Linked DNA regions of Homo sapiens: regions 1, 2, 3 and 4 are each linked to region 5. The links are contacts of gene promoters, found by promoter capture Hi-C in blood cells and fetal thymus (Javierre and others, 2016). All regions are on one chromosome and are shown on one strand. Each heading gives the region's core, a stretch centred on a gene start or on the middle of the fragment in contact. The rest is flanking DNA. Distances are from core to core; before and after follow the strand shown. Region 1 overlaps ZNF326 (zinc finger protein 326). Region 2 holds the start of CDC7 (cell division cycle 7). Region 3 has its middle 8.4 kb from the start of ZNF644. Region 4 overlaps ZNF644 (zinc finger protein 644). Region 5 holds the start of HS2ST1 (heparan sulfate 2-O-sulfotransferase 1).

What was found. The method cuts DNA at HindIII sites, captures the fragments that hold promoters and counts their contacts. A CHiCAGO score of 5 or more calls a contact.
Region 1: a fragment that was not itself captured here is called in contact with the fragment with the promoter of HS2ST1 in region 5 in 7 of 17 cell types (total CD8 T cells, naive CD4 T cells, fetal thymus and 4 more); the score reaches 13.2 in total CD8 T cells.
Region 2: the fragment with the promoter of CDC7 here is called in contact with the fragment with the promoter of HS2ST1 in region 5 in 1 of 17 cell types (activated CD4 T cells); the score reaches 5.5 in activated CD4 T cells.
Region 3: a fragment that was not itself captured here is called in contact with the fragment with the promoter of HS2ST1 in region 5 in 1 of 17 cell types (non-activated CD4 T cells); the score reaches 6.5 in non-activated CD4 T cells.
Region 4: a contact is called between a fragment that was not itself captured here and the fragment with the promoter of HS2ST1 in region 5, in 1 of 17 cell types (total CD4 T cells). The highest score is 5.3, in total CD4 T cells.

Annotation. Positions count from the first base shown.
Region 1 is chr1:89,996,145-89,998,844 of GRCh38, reverse strand. ZNF326 (zinc finger protein 326) reads right to left here. Exons shown (of 12, transcript NM_182976.4): 2 at 691-735. Among named protein-coding and RNA genes, the nearest start is that of ZNF326, 2.4 kb to the right of the region's middle. The HindIII fragment of the contact is 2,215 bases long and covers 220-2,434 here.
Region 2 is chr1:91,499,515-91,502,214 of GRCh38, reverse strand. It overlaps CDC7 (cell division cycle 7), which reads right to left and starts at 1,364. Exons shown (of 12, transcript NM_003503.4): 1 at 1,267-1,364; 2 at 384-561. The coding sequence starts at 498. LOC105378856 (a long non-coding RNA gene) reads left to right here and starts at 1,367. Exons shown (of 3, transcript XR_947599.4): 1 at 1,367-2,700. RefSeq lists an enhancer at 523-722. The HindIII fragment of the contact is 5,865 bases long and covers 66-2,700 here.
Region 3 is chr1:91,029,095-91,031,794 of GRCh38, reverse strand. No RefSeq gene overlaps it. Among named protein-coding and RNA genes, the nearest start is that of ZNF644, 8.4 kb to the right of the region's middle. The HindIII fragment of the contact is 3,917 bases long and covers 1-2,700 here.
Region 4 is chr1:91,011,215-91,013,914 of GRCh38, reverse strand. All of the region lies in intron 1 of ZNF644 (zinc finger protein 644), which reads left to right. Among named protein-coding and RNA genes, the nearest start is that of ZNF644, 9.5 kb to the left of the region's middle. The HindIII fragment of the contact is 3,689 bases long and covers 1-2,700 here.
Region 5 is chr1:86,913,185-86,915,884 of GRCh38, reverse strand. HS2ST1 (heparan sulfate 2-O-sulfotransferase 1) reads right to left here and starts at 1,250. Exons shown (of 7, transcript NM_012262.4): 1 at 725-1,250. The coding sequence starts at 848. It overlaps SELENOF (selenoprotein F), which reads left to right and starts at 1,759. Exons shown (of 5, transcript NM_004261.5): 1 at 1,759-1,857. The coding sequence starts at 1,774. RefSeq lists enhancers at 1,510-1,629, 1,680-1,839, 1,233-1,847, 1,950-1,999, 1,848-2,462. The HindIII fragment of the contact is 1,083 bases long and covers 549-1,631 here.

The DNA.
Region 1 (2,700 bases), core at 78-2,577, 3.1 Mb before region 5:
GGCAATCATGATATTTAATGCCTCAAGTCCTTCATATGTTTTTTAACCTGCATTAATTGTTCTGTGTTCTTTTTTTGTATTATTATCTTGTGTGGCAGGGCCCTAACTCTAATAACTATCAAAATGACATCCAATTGTATTCTACATACCTCTCATGATTCTATCTAGTTCTATAGTCACAAGTCTAATGTCATGCTCATGTCAATAAACAATCAAGCTTCTTCATGTGCTCCTCTAGACAGCTCTTTATATACTAACACATTTGGACACACTGAAGAAAATGACCTCAAAAACAAGGTCAAAATGCATTACAATACAAGCTATATAGAACCAAGCCAATAATCCACTTAGTCTACATTACTCAATACCAAAGCCTCTAATTCAACCAAAATAACTCAGCCAGTGTCTTGTGATTCATCACTCAGAATGTAGTTAGGCCCTTTGGAACACATTAAAATAATCATAATTCAAACAAAATGGACCAAAAAAAAAATCAAACTAATGTGAATAACCCCTAACATTTTCTGATAGCACATTCCCCAATTCAAATACTATATATAGTAAGACAATATTAACACATAAATGATATATCAAGAACCAAAACAAGGACTGAAATAGGTAGAACTGGCCTTTTACATTGATACTATATTTTTATGCGCATGAAGAGAAAAGCTGAAAGAGGATACTTACCATTAAAGCCCTGATAAGTATTCCTGCAGGCGGAGTGTGTGTAATCTATGAAGACACATTTAACAAAAAGGAATTAGTGTGATATTAGCAATAATTCAAAATTATATGCCGATCCAGTAAAAAACAAGCACAATTTTTAAAATGACATTAACCCAATTATCTGCAAAACTGAGAATAGTTAAAACAAATAATTACCAATACTCCATTCCAGAAAATGTATCTCTTTTTTCTTCACTATCTCCCCAAATGGTAGGTTTATTATCCAAATTATGGTAAACATTAGTTTACAACACCTGATACATAATAACAGCCAAAAGAGGGGATTCAGCACTGATTTGTACCAAGTAACACAAAGGCAGATAGATTAAATTATGTATCAAATAATGCAAAAGCAAAGACATCTGAGAATTGTACGTAACATGAAATTTTTGCTAAGTTAATTTCTTTTACCATTTAATTTGCTCTTTAAAGATTTCAAGATCTTGGCCGGGCACGGTGGCTCACGCCTGTAATCCCAGCACTTGGGAAGGTGAGGTGGGCGGGTCACGAGGTCAGGAGTTCGAGACCAGCCCGTCCAATATGGTGAAACCCTTTCTCTACTGGAAATATAAAAATTAGCCGGGCCTGGTGGTGCGTGCCTGTAGTCCCAGCTACTAGGGAGGCTGAGGCAGAAGAATCACTTGAATCCAGGAGGCAGAGGCTGCAGTGAGCCAAGACTGCACCACTGCACTCCAGCCTGGGCGACAGAACGAGACTCTGTCTCAAAAAAAAAAAGATTTCAAGATCTTATCTGAGACATGCATATGCATATACATATATGACTGTGTTCTATATTCAAGCAGAATGTGTCATCACTGAAAACCATATTGCCAATTTCCTCATCAAAACTAATTTAACAACTGTTAAATTCTTTAGTTAATTTTACAAATATATACTGAAAGAACAGAATTTAATATAGTGGTCATCTGGATACAACAGAATCCTGCTACACTATACAGGAATAGATTCATATATGGTGTTAGTCAAACTCCATCTTCCAAATACAGCAGTGGTATATTTGGGCAGTGAGACAGGGCGTATTTCATCACTAATATTGTTTAGAATTTCTATCACTGACACTGTTTAGAATTCTGGCATATGGCAATAACAGAAAGCAGACATACTACATTTTATTATTGTTTTTCAATTCTCCATAGAAATGGATTCCCTTATTGCCTTGGGTGGGGAGTGGAAAGAACTGTTTCTACTGCCCCACCTCCACTTTGTTAGCCTCTGCTATACCTTGGGTGTTGGCATTATCATCAAACTACAGCATGAAAATACAATAATATATTTTTTATTTTCACTCCCAACTCTGGCCACTTCAAATATTCATAGTTTTTTGTTTTGTTGTTGGTTTTTTGTTTTTTTTTTTTCAGACGAAGTTTGGCTCTTGTTGCCCAGGCTAGAGTGCAATGGCACGATCTCGGCTCACTGCAACCTTCGCCTCCCGGGTTCAAGGGATTCTTCTGCCTCCGCCTCCCAAAGTGCTGAGATTACAGGTGTGAGCCATCGTGCCCAGCCCAAATATTCATAGTTTAAAGGTATCTACATCAAAATGAGTTAAAGTCCAACCAAAACAAACAAAACCACGAGAGTGTGCTACTCTTAAGAGCTGAACTTACTATTTCAAAGTAACTGAAAAGTATCTACAAGAGGGCTATTCCAGTCCCCTTTCACAAATCTGTACCTAGATATGAAAGCTTTAATTCTTTGTTGCATGAAATGTTATGAAAAATCAAAAGCTCATCGAGTAAGACATATGCTGAGATCACACCTCATTTAAAGATCATTTTTTTGGTGGGGTTAAAAGTTTACAGCCTACTTAGTGAACTGGTTTTACTTAAGCATGCCTGGTTACTCAGGATTAAATCCAGTTTAATCACATAAGTCCTTTCCCATGTCTCCCTAATGTTGTCACTACATACCACTTTATCTTGACACCAATTCCAAGCAAGGTTTGAAAACAAA
Region 2 (2,700 bases), core at 115-2,614, 4.6 Mb before region 5:
GTCTGTGAGTTCTGCTTTTGAATACTTAAGTGATGATCTCCAGTGTCAATTTCTACATTTAAGCTTAAGGCAATGTGGTGAGTAGAGATAAGAACACAGATACAAAAGAGAAATTTAATTTGGGCATCATCAAATTTCTGCATTCTTAATTACCAATACTGAGACCATAGCAACTTCAACCGTAAAACAGGTTGTATTACAGTCTTCCAAATCGCAATTCAGTCCTACATTTAGATCATACGAAGCTCTGTTTTAACACTGTCCTATAGAAACATACAATTCACTTTATAAGATTCAATCTTATTTTTTGAGAGGAATTGAAAACACAGAATTGTTGCCTGAAAAATCTTTATAACTGTACATCTTTGGATTTAAACACGTACCTGCAAGTTTAAAATTCTGCTCGTTTTTTTTTAAAGAGCCTTCAGCCTGAAACCGGTCACGCTGGGGAGAAAAAGCCATTGGCTCATCCATCTGAATCCCCAAAGACGCCTCCATCACAAGCCAATTGAGATGCAAAATGCCAGCTAAGGGGTTACATCCACAGGGGGAGCAAAGCAGCTGTGAAAATTAGAACACTAGAGAAATTTAGATCACTCGCTAAACCACGCACTAAAAACATGCTACTGCCCCCCAAAGGGGCAAACATTTTCAAACGCACGATGTGTCCAAACCTCCACAGTAGGGCATACTGTGGCCTTGTCTAAGGAATTCCATGTGCTTTATTTTCACCTATCAGAAACACCGGCAGGGGGCTGCAGGGAGAATTTCCCGGCTTGGGCACCCGCGCAGCAGCAGGCGCAGTGGGAAACGGCGAGGCTGCCAGTCCGGCACAGCCAGCGGGACCGCGTGGGGGAGGGGCCGAGCGCCGGGGGCGGTTTGAAGTCAGGAAAAGAACTGAGGGAGAAAACCTTTTCGCCACTGACAGGAAGCGCCAGGAGGCTCGTCCAAGGCCCCAAGCAAGTTGACGGAGAACTGATACGACCCTGGCCACGAGTACTGGGCGGAGGAGGAGAAGGGTGAATGAATGGGAATCCGCCGGCCAGCGCTGGCCGCGAGCTCAGCCGGGAAGGACCGGCTTCCCTCGGGCCAGAGACCGAACCAGATGCTTAGTGCGCAGGCGCGCGACTTTCCCGCCGCAGGTCGGAGGGATCCGAAGGGGGGCGGGAAAAGGAACTGCACGGCGAGAAAACCGAAGTCACGATCCAGAATTCGTTCCTAATCCCTCACAATCCCGCGCCATGGAACAAACCGTCGGAAACTCACGGTTTAAGGGAGTACGACTTCTGTGGCTCCCCAGATGCCTGGGTCGCCGTCTCCAAGAGATCCCCACCTACCGAGTCGATCGGATGCGCCTGCGCAACACTTCCCGCCGCCGCTCTGGTTGCACATGCGCACACTAAAGCCCTCGACCCCGCGGATTCCGCTACTGGGCGTTTGCGCAAGAGGGTGGGGTTTCTTCCCGCCGCCTTGGCCAGCTAGAAGAGCGGTTACGGGAATGAAGCCCGTGGATGATCTTAAAAAACAGGGTGAACCATAAGGCTAAGGGCCCAGCATGATTTCCAGGAAAGAAGCTAGCTCAGAGAAGGAAAAATCTCAGGTGCTGACACATCCCTATATACGTGGCCGGCCGCACAACACATTGGGCACTCCATGGATAAAAGGCACTTTCTTGACTCTGCTTTTATTTCCTTTTCGTTGAGTGCCCTACTTCCCCGTTAAAAACAAGCAGAAAATGTAATTGCTGATTGTTTGTGGCTGTGTTAGTAGAAATTAGCACAGTGGCAGGAAGGCAGTGTATACTATTTACTGAGCCCTTGGCTATGAGGTAGGTGGGTTTTTCTAGGGGCTGGAATCATAGTGAGCAAGATAAACACCATCCCTGTAGGAAGCTAAATTCCAATGAAGCGATGACAATAACGGATGAATAAATGAACAGTATTCTTTCCGGCATTGATTACTACTTGAGGGAAATACTGACCAGGAAGGTGGCATCTAGATGGTCAGGGAAGCCCTCTCAAAGAGACCTGGATGAGAAAGAGCTGGTAGGGAGACTGTTGTCCTGGCAAAGAAAGGATAGGGCAAATGCAGAGAGAAAGAGGAACTTGGTATGTTGCAGGGGCAGGGCAGGAAAGGCCAGTGTGGGGGAAGCATAGTGAGTGAGCCGCAAGATAGTCCCAGATAGATGAAGGTGGAGAGTTAGGCAGAAGCCAGACCAGGGTCCTTGAAAGCCAGGGTAAGAAGTTTAGTGTTTGTTCTGAGTACAATTGGAAGCTATTTGAAAGTTTTAAAGCAAGGGAGTAATATGATCTATCTGTTATGAAGAGAATGGATTGTAGAGGGGCAAGTGTGGAAGCAGAGGAAATAGGATGCACTTTATGTTTAGGAGAAACATAATGGTAGTTTGGACCAGAACAATGGCGGAAGAAATAAAAGAAAGAAGACAATGGGATTTGGTGATTGGCTATGGAAAATGAAGAAAAGGGCATCATCAACAGTGAATCTTAGGTTTTGGGCTAGCATATGTGTGGGTGGTAGTGCCACATAGAAGGGAAGTCTGTGAGGTAATGGTTTTTGATTGAGTGAGGTGGAAGAGAGTAAATCAAGGATTCTAGTGTGGATACCGAGAAAGAGAAAAGCAGACCTTGACATCCAGGAGATGGCCTGGTACTACCAGCTTGGTTTGCTGTTGCTTTGAGC
Region 3 (2,700 bases), core at 49-2,548, 4.1 Mb before region 5:
GCCTTTGCACCTTTGCTGAAATTTAATTGACCATGTAATTGTGGGTCTATTTCTGGACCCTCTATTTTCTTTTATTGATCTATTTGCCTATCTTAATGTTAATACCACACTATCTTGATTACTATTTTCCATGCTGGCCATGTCATAGACCACTTGCCAGCCTATGGATTAGTTTCCTTCGGATCAGGTGCCCATCCCGTGTCCAGTCAGATGTAGCTAAGTGTTGGGGAGAGCAGTTTTGCAGAGTGCAAAGCAGGGCTGCTGAGCACTACCTCTCCATGCAAGCTGAGGGCAGGGCAGCTTCCTGTAACATGTGCTATGATTATGCAGGTACAAGCTGCATAAATAACCTACTCTTCTCTCTGCATCCAGTTTTACCTCTTCAATACATTGTATATATTTCTAAAGTGCAAATTTTACCATTTAATTTCCTTTTAAGATCCCTCAATGGTTTCCCATTGCCCTTAGGATCAAGTCCAAGTTCCTTGTCCTTAGCAATCCAACTTCTGCTTCTCTTTCCAGTTTCATTTCTTACCACACTTACTCTTGCCACTTCTTGCATGTATACTCTGGTTTTGTGAATTACTTACCATTCCCTAAACATGGCATACTCTCTTGTACTTCTTATACTTTTTTCATGTTTCCCTCTGCGAAGAATATCTTTACCCCTACTCTTTCCCCCCAACTAGATTTTAAAAGTCTTTTAGGTCTTCACTAGTCTCAGTGGCTCATGCCTGTAATCCCAGCACTTTGGGAGGTCTAGGTGGGTAGCCCAGGAGTTCAAGACCAGCCTGGGCAACATGGCAAAACCCCAACTCTACAGAAAAATTTAAAAATTAGCTGGGCGTGGTGGCGTGTGCCTATAGTCCCAGCGACTCAGGAGGCTGTCATGAGGATTGATTGAACCTGGGAGGTCGAAGCTGCAGTGAGCCATGATCATGCCACTGCACTCCAGCCTGGGTAACAGAGAGAGATGCTATCTTTAAAAAAAAAAAAAGGAAAAAAAAAGTATTTTATGTCTTCTCTTAGATATGACATCGATTTAATTTAACAAATTTTTATTAAGCAACTAATGTGAGCTAAGAAATGCCCTGCACTGTAAGAAACAAGATTAATAGGGCCCTTATCTTCACGTAGCATAGAGTCTAGAGGAGGAGGTAGTCATTAAACAAGTAATTATAGTAAAATCCACATGTACAATAATGTAGAAATAACATGGTGAAATTATGTTCCCTGACAATGCAAAACCAATTTTAATACATCTGGCTATTAATCCTGCCCTCTCCCCAGTTCCCGTTTTCAATGTGGTGGGTTAAAGTTCCTATCTTGGAGGGGAAGACAAGGTGAAGTGGACCTCTGCACACCCAGGAAGTGGGACTCTGCATTCCCAGTATTCTCCCAGCCCAATCTGCCTGTATTAGACAGATCAAATGGCTGTCAAGAAGCCCAGAGATTCCTGGAATCAGTGCTACGATTCTGTAATTCCCAGCTAGTCATAGAGCCTAGAGTTATCCCCTGTATATTTATTTAAGCTGGAGAAGTCAAGTACCAGCAGACGGCTCCGAACTCTAGCTGAGACCAGAATGGATTTTGGTCACACAGCCAGACACTTGGTGCTCTCCAGCAAACTATGTGGGATCACTCCAATCATTTCATTAATCTCATAATAATATGACCTTGTAATTTGTGAAACTGAATTTTTAGATTCTATTTGTTCAGTTATAGTGGGGTTTATGTACACATGAGATAAGTATAACAAAAGAAGCACTGAGTGGTTTTTGAGTATGAGGTAAGAGGGTGACGGAAAGTGGCTCTGACAGAAGCCCAGGTGAATCCAATCAGCCAATTACATTAATTGGGACTGCTGAAGTATCAAGGCAGGCCCACAATGGTTAACTTAAAATGCAGGTGGGGCCGGGCGTGGTGGCTCACGCCTGTAATCCCAGCACTTTGGGAGGCCGAGGCAGGTGGATCACTTGAGGTCAGGAGTTTGAGACCAGCTTGGCCAACATGGTGAAACCCCGTCTCTACCAAAAATACAAAAATTAGCCAGGCATGGTGGTGTTCACCTGTAATCCCAGCTACTCGCGAGGCTGAGGCAGGAGAATTGCTTGAACCCAAGAAGTGGAGGTTGCAGTGAGATTGCACCATTGTACTCCAGCCTGGGCTACAGAGTAAGACTCCTTCTCAAAAAAATAAAAAATAAAAAAATGAATGTATAGGCAGGCATATGCCAAGAAGGAAAGCATATATGTAAATATATGTACACATACTTATGTATATTATATTTATATATAAATATACATACATAAATATTTGTATATACATAATTTATATGTATATTATATACACACAGGTCTTATATGTATATATATTTGCATTTATATATGCATATATTGTGATTATCTATATATGCATACATGTAGATTATATATATGTATATACAAATATATGCATTTAAATATAAATTATATTTACATATATAATCTACATATATGTATATATAAATAGATAATCACAAATTGGCCTACATTTGGGTAACCTATAAAATTGGTCAAAGGATTGTTGATATTAGCTATCCAAAACTAAGGAACTTAATCAAAGGGATATTTAACTGAAACTTGAAGAATGAGTAGGAATTAGCCCAGGTGAAGGAGTGGGAAGATGATTCTAGGCAGAGAAGGCATCCTCCAGAAGCCT
Region 4 (2,700 bases), core at 194-2,693, 4.1 Mb before region 5:
TTTATTAATGGATTTTTATTTAACCCAGTATCTAAATACTATTATTTCATCATATAAACATGATTGAACTATTTTACATTTTTTCTTTTTTTAACCATGTTAAGTCTTCAAAATCTGTTAGTATTACATACTTAAAGCACATCTCAATTCAGACTAGCCAGAGTTCAGGTATTCAGTAGCCACATGAAGTTACTGTATTGGACAGTGCAATTACAGATAGTAAGTCCTATGGGGTATAGGGAAAGAATAACATAGAAATTGAACTGAACCGTAAAGGATAGCTGAGAACAGAAAATGCTTGAGAAGAATATTCCCATAAAGAAGTGATAGGAATTAAAACAGCAAATACAGTTTGATACCAGGTAATAGAGTGGCTTGAATCCAGTTTAGGGAATTTGGTTTGGGTGTGTATATGTGTGTGTGTGTGTGTATGTGTGTGTGTGTGTGTGTGTGTGTGTGTGTGAGAGAGAGATTGGAAATATATATTGGAGGGTGCCTAATTCGTGTCTCATACATGAGCACTTGATAAATACTGAATTAACTGGGTGCATTGGCTCATGCCTGTAGTCCCAGCACTATGGGAGGCTGAGGTCGGCAGATCGCCTGAGGTCAGGAGTTTGAGACCAGCTTGGCCAATATGATGAAATATCCCGTCTCTACTGAAAATACAAAAATTAGCTGGGCATGGTGGTGTGCACCTATAATGCCACCTACTTGGGAGGCTGAGGCGGGAGAATTGCTTAAACATGAGAGGCGGAGGTTGCAGTAAGCCAAGATCATGCCACTGCATCCCCACCTGGGCGACAGAGTGAGACTCAGTCTCCAAAAAACAAAAGAAAAAAGATAAATATTGAATTAATATTTAGAGAGAATTAATATGACACTACAGAAAATGCTGGAAAAAACATCCTAACAAAGCCTAGTCGATCTTCAAAAGGGAAAGTGTTTCATTTAGGGAATATTGATGTTCTGTGATTAACAATATGATGGAGATTGATAAAGAAGGATGAGAATTGAGAAAAGGTTTTTAGATTTAGCTATTAATTGGTTACTTGTTTTTAAGTATTTTTTTTAGGTATAACATACAGTGAAGTGCACAAATCTTAAGTACAACTCAGTGAATTTATACATATAAGTATACCTAGGTAACTCCCAGGTAGTGGGAGGTACTGGGTTACACCTGGGGAGAAGAGGATGTAAAAAAAGCACAGACATGAGAATTGTGGAATGCAAGCATTTTCCGTGATTAGAGCCTATTTTAAATGAAATACCCAGATAGAGATGTAGAATATTTTTCTTCACTGATTAAAGGTGCCTTGTGCTCCCTCCTATTAATTTCTCCCTACAGAAGTAACCACTATTTTAACCTCTAACCTCTATCACCATAAATTAGTTTTTGCTTGTTTCTTTTTCTTTTCCTTCCTTTTTTTTTCTTTTGAGACAGGGTCTCAGTCTGTCACCCTAGCTGGAGTGCATTGGCGCAATCTCAGCTCACTGCAGCCTTCACCTCCCAGGCTCAAGCGATCCTCCTCCTTCAGCTTCCTGAGTACCTGGAACTACAGGTGCATGCCATCATGCCTGGCTGATTTTTTTTTTTTTTCTTTCGGTAGTAGAGATAGGGTTTTACCATGTTGCCCGGGCTGGAGTTTTTGTTTCTAAACTTCTTATGGCATATTTGTCCTCCCTCCCAAGGGTAGTGAGAATTGATGCTTGAATCCATCTCTCTTTTCTTCTGTCCTTGTTTGGCATTGTTATGAATTGGGAGGTAAATCAGGTGATATTTGGTACTATGGCCCTTTTTTCCCCCCAGTGACAAAATCAGAGAGGTGCTTCTTAGTGTTCATTAATAGTAATCCTTTAGAGGTTAGTTTTATGACTTGATATTTTGTTTAGAATGCAGAGATTTGAATTTGCCTCCACCGATAACATAGTTGCCTGGCTTGCTGTCATTACAGTATTCTCTAGGCATATAGCCAGGAAGTAGGTGGAGGAAGTTGTGGATTGCCTCCTTATATAGATGGTTTTTGGAGCCTCTTTGATGGTAGCTTCCAGGCATTATGTCAGTTAGCTATTAGGCATTTTAGGTTGCTTATTAAGGTATTTGGGTATTTCTGATTGTAATTTTAGAGGTAGGAATAAATAGGTGTACTTTTTTTTTATAGGTAGGCATCTACCTGTTCAACAGAAAAGTAGAATATAACTAGAATGTTACCTTATGGACAGTTGCTTACAAGTGTGAATGGTTAAAGCCCATGTAGGAGACTTTATAAATGGAAAACTGAAATAGAATTGTTGATCATGATTTTTACTTTTAGTGCTTGAATCAGTTTTTTTCCCCCAAATGGAATTAATAGTTGTAGCATTATTTTTCGTAAATACTGAGCAGTAGAAACCTTATTGTAGTATAGCAGTATTAAATTGGTGCTTTGCAGATAAAGAATTTTTTCTGAAATGGGTATTATAATGTTGTTAAACGTATATAATAAAAAATATATCTTCACATTCTAGTATATCTGGTTTTGAAGAATGAATATGTAAATTGCGCAGAAATGGGTATGAAAAGACTTTCTCATTAACATTTGGATTGTGAATGCTCGAGTTTATAAATGAAAATATTTACTCTATATAAAGAAGTTTTGTCTTTTGGAATTTGTAATAAGTTCATTTAATATACTCTTGCTCCAGGGATTTCAGTATTTG
Region 5 (2,700 bases), core at 1-2,500:
GTGAAGCAACATACATAGGCATCCCTATTCTCAAGCCCCAATTCATCAGTTTAGCGCCACTAAAGAAGAATTTAAATCTCCGGACCCTCATTTCCGTACTCCGATGAAGCTTTGCACTCGCGTTCCCGCACTACCCGGCCAGCCTCCCTCAGCTGGCAATTACAAGGTCCTTTGCTGCCCGGAGCACAAGAGTGCAACTCGCTACAGTGTTCACATGTTGCTCTCCGTCATCCCAGCATCTCCTCCCATTTCTGCGCACCTATCCCTTCATGAGCCCCCAAAAGAATTCGTATCCAGATGCCCATAGCTCAAATTAGAATACCCCTCATCTGACATTGCCAGGGCTTCCTGTACGACTTCCAAGAGAACACGCGATGCTAAGCGCTTCTGTCTCCGGAGACCAGCAACACACGCTCCCCACTGAGTTCGGTCTTCTCTCTCGCTCTCTCTCCGCGGAATGCCTACTTCGGGGCTACCCTTTGGCTAGGGAAGCCCAACCTTGCAACCTCTGCCCCGTGACCTCGCGAGCCCAGCACGCCGCTCAAGCTTAATTCAACCCATTCTTGGAGCTCGTGCTCTCGCTGCCCCTTGTTCCCGGTTCTCTTTGAAACCGCTTTCAGCCCCCGAGCCAGACCCCAGGTTAGATGAACGCCCACTTGCTCCGGCGGCAGCGCCTCCTCGGCCCCTTCCACAGCACTCAGCCCGGGGCAGTTCAGTTCCTCACCTAGCTTCGAGCGGGACTCCTCCAGTTTCTGGATCTGGTTTTCCAAGAAGAGCATCGCCACCGCGAAGGCCACCACCGCCAGCAGCTGCAACTTGGGCGGCATCATAATCCTGAGGAGCCCCATGAAACCCGCTGCTCGGGATCAAGACATACCGCGGGGGGCGGGGAGCGGGACCCCGGAGGCGAGAGAGACGCCGGGAGGAGCCCGCCGAGCCGGGAGCGAGGCAAAGAGAGAGCGACAGCGAGAGAACCACCGCAGCGACCCCCCTTCTCGCCTCTCCAGTCCCCCTCCCCCAGGCGCTATCACCAACGCCGCTGGTGTCCGCTTCTCCTCAGCCGACTAAACGGCCGCCCCCTCCAAAAGCCCGCGCAGCAAACAGCGCGAAGCGGCTGCCGGGCTCTCGCCTCCCTCTACTGCCTCAGTCCCCGACCCCCGCGCCCGCCTGCTTGCCCGCCTCCCTCTCTTCCTTCCTTCCCTCCCTCCTTTGCTCGCGGCCGCGCGCCCCTCCACCGGCGCTGCGGCTGCGCCGCCCTCATCCCCGCCCCCGCCCATCCCCCTCCGCCACCACGCGCACGCATCCGCGTACGCTGCTCGGCAACCAGAAGCCCCGCCCCTCCCCCCGTTCGGGTCCGCTTATTGGACGGAAGAGCCCCTGCGCTTCGCTCTTGGTTCGGTTTACGGTTGGTTTCCTCTGCCACAGAGCTCAATCAAGACGACATTCAATTGGGTAAACTTGGAGAAGAAGGCGGGGCTAAAACTGGCGAAGGCGTGGCTTCTTGGCTGCTTGACGAAGTGTCGTGAATAAAAGAAAGGAGACCGCAGAAGTAAAGAAGTGGGGAGTTTAGGCAAGTGCCTGATTTGGGTAATCGAAAGCACCCAGTGATTGTATTTGATGACTTTTAAGCTTTCATATGCCGTTATTTAATACCTGTCACTTCCAAATGAGAGATGTAAGGGCAACGGCCGTTAGCGTTCTGTTTTGGATCAGGCTCTGGAGTGGACGCCCCTAGCTTAGGGGTCCTTCTAGGCAGCCAGAAACCTGCGGAAAATGGTAGCGATGGCGGCTGGGCCGAGTGGGTGTCTGGTGCCGGCGTTTGGGCTACGGTTGTTGTTGGCGACTGTGCTTCAAGCGGTGAGTGTAGATCACCTTCGCAGCTGCCACAGGGAGAGTAGGAGTGATTGCAGCTGAGAAAGACGCAACATTCGGTCCTGGTTGAAAAGGGTGGGGAGGACTGCGCTTCCTTAATGACTGCTGCGGCCAGAATGCAACGTGGCTTAATTTCTCGGTTGATCCTTCTCCTTCCCCGCCTTGGGTTTCTAGCAGCAGTTTTCTCTTGATTTCAGATTGTCTTGGGTACGTAGCTTCTCTTATACGGCTCTTGCTAAAAACAATCTGTAAACCACACCAGGTGGGAGGGGGGAATAATAAAGCTTGGCAAGAAGTGGAGGTTGTTTTTAAATGGACAGAAATGCAAGAGACTCATGACGAGACTTCCAACTCTTAGAGGCAAGTCTTCAAGTCGTTGGTCCAGGCGAACAGTTTGTGTTTACCTCTCTCGCGCGCGTGCTCTCTCATTTTCACTACTTCTGTTAGTCTCTTAACTTCCGTTCTCCTCTGCTATTCATATACGGCTGGCTGCGCTTGAGTGCGATTTGTGCTTTTAAACAATGTTGTTGGAGTAAAAGGAGTTATCTATACCAAAGTATAATTCATTTTTGAAGTTAGTTTTTTAAATGATGTTCGTTGTCTTCTTTAAGGCAGCGTTTTTTATTTCATTTTTCTCTATTGGCAGAATAGATGGGTGACCTTTGAATGGGAAAAGTGTACTTTTAACTTATTTCTTCTCATATCCATGTTCTGCTGTGTGAATAGTAAAATTTTAGGCACAGTGCTGAAAGCTTTTACGTTTTTTTATCCTAGCTTAATTCTTCGGGTAGTCTCTAATAAGGAGACCTGGTTTAATTTACTTATCCA